2 separate regions of the Homo sapiens genome follow, and region 2 is linked to region 1. The links are contacts of gene promoters, found by promoter capture Hi-C in blood cells and fetal thymus (Javierre and others, 2016). All regions are on one chromosome and are shown on one strand. Each heading gives the region's core, a stretch centred on a gene start or on the middle of the fragment in contact. The rest is flanking DNA. Distances are from core to core; before and after follow the strand shown.

Evidence for each region. The method cuts DNA at HindIII sites, captures the fragments that hold promoters and counts their contacts. A CHiCAGO score of 5 or more calls a contact.
Region 2: a fragment that was not itself captured here is called in contact with the fragment with the promoter of TDRD1 in region 1 in 1 of 17 cell types (neutrophils); the score reaches 6.4 in neutrophils.

What each region holds. Positions count from the first base shown.
Region 1 is chr10:114,177,699-114,181,415 of GRCh38, reverse strand. It overlaps TDRD1 (tudor domain containing 1), which reads right to left and starts at 2,063. Exons shown (of 25, transcript NM_001395205.1): 1 at 2,000-2,063. The HindIII fragment of the contact is 8,256 bases long and covers 1-2,521 here.
Region 2 is chr10:113,861,804-113,865,520 of GRCh38, reverse strand. The region is part of intron 2 of NHLRC2 (NHL repeat containing 2); the gene reads right to left. LOC124902506 (a long non-coding RNA gene) reads right to left here. Exons shown (of 2, transcript XR_007062295.1): 2 at 1,881-2,236. Among named protein-coding and RNA genes, the nearest start is that of NHLRC2, 9.0 kb to the right of the region's middle. The HindIII fragment of the contact is 7,063 bases long and covers 1-3,717 here.

The sequences.
Region 1 (3,717 bases), core at 814-3,313:
GGTAAACAAATGTGACAGATTATTGCTGCACAGGCCCTGAAGCCACATCGGCTAACCTCACCCAGTTTTAAAATAATTCCCCCTATATACAATCTACTATTTTTTCATGCTACTAGTGATAAATAGAAATATATTTAATCATTCTGGAATCCACAGTAATTAAATGTTGATTCAGCTAACATAAAAGGTTAACTAGAAGGGTCTCAACATTTCTCTACGTTAAAGAGTACCTCATTTTCTCAGAATTAGGAATCACTGATGTACTAGAAGAGTAGTGGACTGAAAGTGACTCATTTCTATAGTTCTACAGGCAAAAATGAGGGCTCAGCTTTCTGGATTTCTTTGTTCTGTACTTCACGCTTTGAACCCATTAAGTCCTGAAGCTCCCTAAGGGTAGACCCTCTCTTTTCTTTGGAATCCTATCGGTTCTCCCTGATGTTGCTGGGGGCTTCCTAAGATACACTATGAATAGTGGGGTAAGTCATTTCTTCTCCCTCTAGGATACCACAGGCTGGAGTTCTTTTAACAACAAAAGTGTATGCACAGATACTCAGCTGTCATTTTTTTCCTTCTCTGATGTTTGCTTTTGTCTTCCTGGCAACCCCATGTATTCTGCAAGAACCATTCTACTCAAAGAAAACACTCCGGTTTTGGCTGGGCGCTGTGGCTCACGCCTGTAATCCCAGCACTTTGGAGGCCGAGGTGGGCGGATCACCTGAGGTGAGGAGTTGGAGACCAGCCTGGCCAACATGGTGAAACCCTGTCTCTACTAAAAATACAAAAATTAGCAGGGCGCCGGTGGCTGGCCTGTAATCCCAGCTACTAGGAAGGCTGAGGCTGGAGAATCGCTTGAACCCGGGAGGCGGAGGTTGCAGTGAGCTGGGATCGCGCCATTGCACTCCAGCCTGGGCAACAAGAGTGAAACTCTTACTCAAAGAACAAACAAAAACACTCCGGTTTTAAACAGACAAAACGCAACGCTTCGGTAAAGCATGAGCTCTTAAGTCAGCCAGGTAAGTCTCGTCTTCCTCATTTAGCCACGCTATCTTGGGCAAATCACTTCATCTTTCTAGGATTCAGCGACTGTAAAATGCAGAGGGCAGTAGTTAACTTCCTCACAAATCCTAATCACGAGAATTAAATGAGAGACGAAGTAAATCACTTAGCACAGTGGCTAGTACTTCCTAAGGGCTTAAAGGGCAGCTATTATTTCTGCTTTACTTTTATACCACTCCTACAAGCACAAAATTTCTTCCATTCCTGTGGAACCAGCTTGCAGGCTTAAGATGAAAATAATTTGAGGACTAAAGTATTTTTATTTCGTTATTCCTACAGATAAACAAGGGAGACGTGGGAAGTTGGAATAACTTACCAAACCACCCAGGGCCAGCACCTTACACAGTTTAGATAAAAACGCAGGTCAGACTCCACGGCCTTGGATTTAAGCATACAGCACCGTGCTGCCTCACTAAGGAAGCTGGAAGCATTTAGCTCCCTTAGTTCAGAAGCCCAGCAGGGCTAACGTATTTATAGCAAGGACCCTAGGGCCCGGAAAAGCTACTGGCACACAGCAGGAACTCCTTAAACAAACTAGCGCCAGCTGACCCACATCTAAGTAAATGCCCTAGCACATCTTCCTTTCCTATAGGAGGAAAGTAGGGAAAAAAAAGTCTAGTAAATGTTAATATTGTTTGTATCGTAATTTTTAGTCAAACGAAGGCACTGAATCCACATGCAAGTTTCTCTTAGAGAGAAGGTGAACGTTTGCATTTGAAGGAGTGATGCCTGGAAGCGCTATTTCCAAACTCAGAGAATCCTCCCACACCAAACCCTCGCAGCAAGGTTCCAAGTCTCCTCTCTCCACTTCCAGGCCCCTTGTACCCGCTCAACGCCCAACCTCAACGTCCAGCGCCCAACGTCTGGCCCCCAACGACCGAAGCCCCCTCCCTTCCCCTTCATGCAGGCCCTCTCCCTCCCCTATACGCCTGGGAACCCTGACCTGGAAAGAGGCAAGAGGACCGCGGATCCGAACCTGTCTCTGCGGTCTGGCGGTGATGGCGACTGCCGATGCTGGGAGCCCTGCCGCCTGGGATGCGCCCTGCACTTCCCTCGCCTCCAATCCCCAGTGCGCCCTCCTGGCCTCAGCGCACGCCTGCGCACTCCGCGTCCACGTGCAACTCAATGTGCCCACGTGTTCCCTCCGCCTTCCCCGGAAGCAGCTTGTGCTCTAGTTACAGGCTCAAAAAGTTCCTTTGCAGAAACTTTTATTTTGTTCTAGCTTCTTCTAGAAAGATGTCTCTGGCAACGCCTTTGGCAAATTTGGGCGCAAAGATGCAGACTTTGTCTCCTCGAAGGTCACTTGGGTCACCGTGGCCACTTAAAGGTCTTCCAAGGTTTTCCAAATAATCAACAGCCTCTGCCTGGTCTTGGAAAGTAAACACACACGTGCTCATACTTTTTTTCTTTGCTTCCTGACTGAGGGCATGTGATTATACCTGTTGGTGTTACTTAAAGACAAGCTTTTTAAGTTTTGTTTTTTTTTTTTTTTGCTATGGAACTTTTCTAACAATTTCATAAGGGAACCCTTGTGTGCCTATCATCTAGTTTCTACCTTATCAATTCATGGTTAATCTTGTCTACATCTGCAGCCCAGGCACTCTTCGGGCAATGTTTTGAAGCAAATCCGAGAATTGTAAATGTGAGACAAAGTAGCGAACGTCTGCTTCTGGCCCCCAGCATAGTCCTCCCTCACTGTGAAAAAGCCACGTTTGTTCACTGTGTTTGTCAGCATTTCAGACCCCTTGACTTAGTAACATCTCAGCCCTCCAGAAGAATGCCTTGAAGACTGCGGAGAGAACTCAGGTTCCCACCTCTCAGAGTCACTGCATTTTTAGAAAAGATACTTTCAGAGATCTAGGCCTTGCCTTTTTCTGTACCTAACGGACAAGATTAATGATGATGCCTAGACTTACTCTCGCACCCAAACTTTGAAAATATTTTGATCTTATATAGCTTCTGGGCACTTTTAATGTAACCCCTGGGCAGAACCTCTACCACCTAATATTTAAAGTGTGCTGACCCACTGCTTTGGAGTAGTTTAACAGAAATTCTCTGGGCTCTCCCTGGTTGCAGTCCTCAGTAAGACTCTGAATAAAACTAACTTCACTAACTTCAATTCTTTAAAAGCCTGATTTTTTTTCTTTAGTTGATGTGTCTTTTAAATTTATTTTTTAGAGCAGTTTCAGATTTACAGAATAGTGAAATGAAAGTGCTGACTGGGCGTGGGGGCTCATGCCTGTAATCCCAGCACTTTGGGAGGCCGAGGCAGGCAGATCACTTGAGGTCTGGAGTTCGAGACCAGCCTGGCCAACATGGTGAAACCCCGTCTCTACTTAAAATAAAAAAATAAAAAAAAATTAGCTGGGTGTGGTGGCAGGCGCCTGTAATCCCAGCTACTTGGGAAACTAAGGCAGGAGAATCGCCTGCACCCAGGAGGCGGAGGTTTCACCGAGCCAAGATCACTGCCACTGCACTCCAGCCTGGGCAACAGAGCAAGACTGTCTCAAAAAAAAAAAAAAAAAGAAAAAGAAAGAAAGAAAAGAAGGTGCTGTACAGAGTTCTGACAGAAGCCACATCGTTTCCCCTATTATTAGCATGGTCTGTTAGCATGATACATTTGTTATAATTAAGGAACCAAGGAACCAACATTGATACAGT
Region 2 (3,717 bases), core at 796-3,295, 320 kb after region 1:
TCTCGTGCTTTTCCTTTTTTCCAATATTCTTCACAAACCTGTGGCAAATTAAAGAAAAAGTTCTACGGTAATCTAAAAAAGAAATATATTCCACAAACAATATTCTAAGCCAAATACAGAAAAACACTAGTCAGTATTCTCCACCACATTAACAAGTGAGTTATTGGGCCAGCAAATCATACCCAGTAATATGCTAATAAACCAGCTCTATTATATGGTGAGAGGAACGGGGGGGGGGGATGAAAAGCGATTTTTAAAAACCTCTCATTTGTGGCCGGGCGCGGTGGCTCACACCTGTAATCCCAGCACTTTGGGAGGCCGAGGCAGGCGTATCACGAGGTCAGAAGATCGAGACCATCCTGGCTAACACGGTGAAACCCTGTCTCTACTAAAAATACAAAAAATTAGCTGGGCGTGGTGAGGAGCGCCTGTAGTCCCAGCTACTCGGGAGGCTGAGGTAGGAGAATCGCTTGAACCCGGGAGGCGGAGCTTGCAGTGAGCTGAGATGGCGCCATTGCACTCCAGCCTGGGCGACAGAGCAAGACTCTGTCTCAAAAAAAAAAAACCAAAAAACCTCTGATTTGTAGCATTTGTTGATTTCCATGGTCTAAATACTCCCACTATGGCTGATTTCAAGATTACCACTGGCTCATAAAATTTCTTACATATTTAACAAATGGCTCTCACCAGCCTACAGGAGCCAGCTCCAACAAACCACTGAGTGTAACCCTCCCAGTGGTGCACAATTCTGACCTTGTAAGGTTCATTTTTAAAATAGTTGTTAAAAACCCATTTTTGTGTGTGTGTGTGGTTTTTTTTTTTTTTTAGACGGAGTCTTGCTCTGTCGAAAGGCTAGAGTTCAGTGGCGCAATCTCAGCTCACTGCAATCTCTGCCTCGTGGGTTCAAGCGATTCTCTTGCCTCAGCCTCCCTAGTAGTTGGGATTACAGGGGCGCGCCACCACACCCAGCAATTTTTGTATTTCTAGTAGAGACAGGGTTTCACCATGTTGGCCAGGATGGTCTCCATCTCTTGACCTCATGATCCGCCTGCCTTGGCCTCCCAAAGTGCTGGGATTATAGGCGTGAGACACCACGCCTGGCTCATTTTTGTGTTCTTATAGTTTCTTCCATAAGATTTACTATTTTAACCGTTTGTTAAGTGTACAGTTCAAGGTATTTAGGACATTCCTATTGCTGTGCGACCATTGCCATCCTCCATCTCCGGAACTCATTTCATCTCGCAAAACTGAAAATGTACCCATTAAACAATAGCTCCACATTCTCCCCTCTTGCTAGTCACTAGCAACCACCATTTTACTTTCTGTCTCTATGATTCAGATTACTCTAAGTACCCTGTGTAAGTGAAATTATGTAGTATTTGAATTTTTGTAAGTGGCATAAATTGTGAATTTTTTTTCACCTAACATAATGTCCTCAAAGTTCATCCATGTTAGAATTTCCTTCCAAGGTTGAATAACATTCCACTGTATGCACACACCACATTTTCCTCACCCACGATCCATCAATGGACACTTAGGTTGTTTCTAAATCTTGGCTATTGAGAATAATGCTACCAGATATAGGTCTATTCAGGTTTTCTATTTCTTCATAGTTTAGTCTTAGTAGGTTTTGTTTTCAGAAATTTGTCTACTTCATCTAGGTTATCCAATTTGTTAATGTACAATTGCTCATAGTACTCTTATAATCCTTTTTATTTCTGTAGAATCAGTAGTAATGTTCCCATTTTCATTCCTGATTTTAATAATTTGAGTCTTCTTTTTTCTTAGTCTAGCTAGCTAAAGGTCTAGGAATTTTTCTGGTACTTTTAGAGAACCAACTTTTGGTTGGTTGTACCCAAATTGATCTTTTCTATTATCTATTTTGTTTCTCCCTGCTTGAATCTTTATTTCCTTCCTTCGGTTAGCTTTGGGTTTACTGTGTTTTTCTTTTTCTAGATTCTTAAGGTGTAAAATTCTAAGATATTACACCTTAGATTTAAGTTATTTCTTGTTTTTTAATATAAGCATTTATAACCATAAATTTCTTCCTTAGCCCTGTTTTCACCATGTGCCATAAGTTTTGTTACATTGTGTTTTCATTCGTCTCTAAGTATTTTCTAATAATTACCTATGTGTTTTCTTCTTTGGTCCACTGGTTATTTAAGAGTGTGCTGTTTGATTTCCACAAATTTGTGAATTTTCCAATTTTCCTTTGGTTATTGTTTTCTAACTTCATCTGTGATCAGAAAAGATACTTTAATATTTATCTTTAAAAAAAATCTATTGAAATTAACTTGTGGCATAACTAATGGTCTATCCTGGAAAATGTCCCATACGCAATCCTGTTGTTGTTGGGTAGTGTTATCTTGTTGGGGAGAGTGTCCTGTATATATTGGGTATAATTCTCCAACTACTATTGTAGAATTGTCTATTTCTCCCCTCAATTCTGTCAATTTTTGTTCATATATTTTGTCTGTTATTAAGTGCCTGTTTATAATCATTTTATCATTATAATCATATCATCTATGTATTAATTTATTTTTTAATAAATGAGGTCTTGCTATGTTACTCAGGCTGGTCTCCAACTCCTGGCCTCAAGTGATCTTCCTGCCTCAGCCTCCTGAGTAGCTGGGATTACAGGTGAAATCTGTGCTCAGCTTGGGCTTTTTATTAGTATATAATGTCCTTCTTTGTCTCTTGTAACCTTTTTAGATCTAAAGTCCATTTTGTCTGATACTAGCATAGCCATCCCAGCTCTCTTTTAGTTACAATTTGCATACAATATCCTTTTCCATCCTTTCAATTTTAACCTGTTTGTATCTTTGGATCTAAAGTGAGTCTCTTGAAGACAACATATAGTTGGAATATGTTATTTATTCATTCTGCCAATTTCTGCCTTTCAATTAGAAGACTTAATCCATTTACATTTAAAGTAATTATTGACAAAGAGGGACTTATCTGTCATTTGGCTATTTGTTTTCTACATGCCTTAGAGCTTTTTTGTCCCTCATTTTCTACATTACTGTTTTTTTTTTTGTTTAGTTGATTTTTATTTTGTAGTGAAACATTTAAATTCTTTTCTTATTTCATTTTGTGTATATTCTTTCTTTCTTTTTTTTTGTGGTAACCAGAGGAATTACATTTAACATCTTAAAGTTATTACGCTCTAATTTGAATTTATGCCAGCTTCAATAACACACAAAAACTCTGCTCCTTTAACACCTCCATCCCATCCCTTTCAGTTGTTGATGGCCCCAAATTACATCTTTGTACATTATATCTCCAAATATATAAACTAATAATTACTTTAATGCATTAGTTTCTTAAATTACATAGAAAATAGGCCGGGCTCGGTGGCTCATGGCGTTAATCCCATACAGCAGTTTGAGAGGCTGAGATGGGCGAATCATGTGAGGTCAGGAGTTCAAGACTAGCCTGGCCAACATAGTAAAACCTGTCTCTACTAAAAAAAATACAAAAAGTAGCTGGGCGTGGTCGCAGGCACCTGTAATCCCAGCTACTTGGGAGGCTGAGGCAGGACAATTGCTTGAGCCTGGGAGGCAGAGGTTGCAGTAGGCCGAGATGCGCCACTACACTCTAGCCTGGGGAATAGAGCAAGACTCTGTCTCAAAAAAAAAATACATAGAAAACAAAATGTGATGTTACAATAACATTAGCTTTTAGAATAATTTTAAAAATATAGTAGTCTCTTAAATC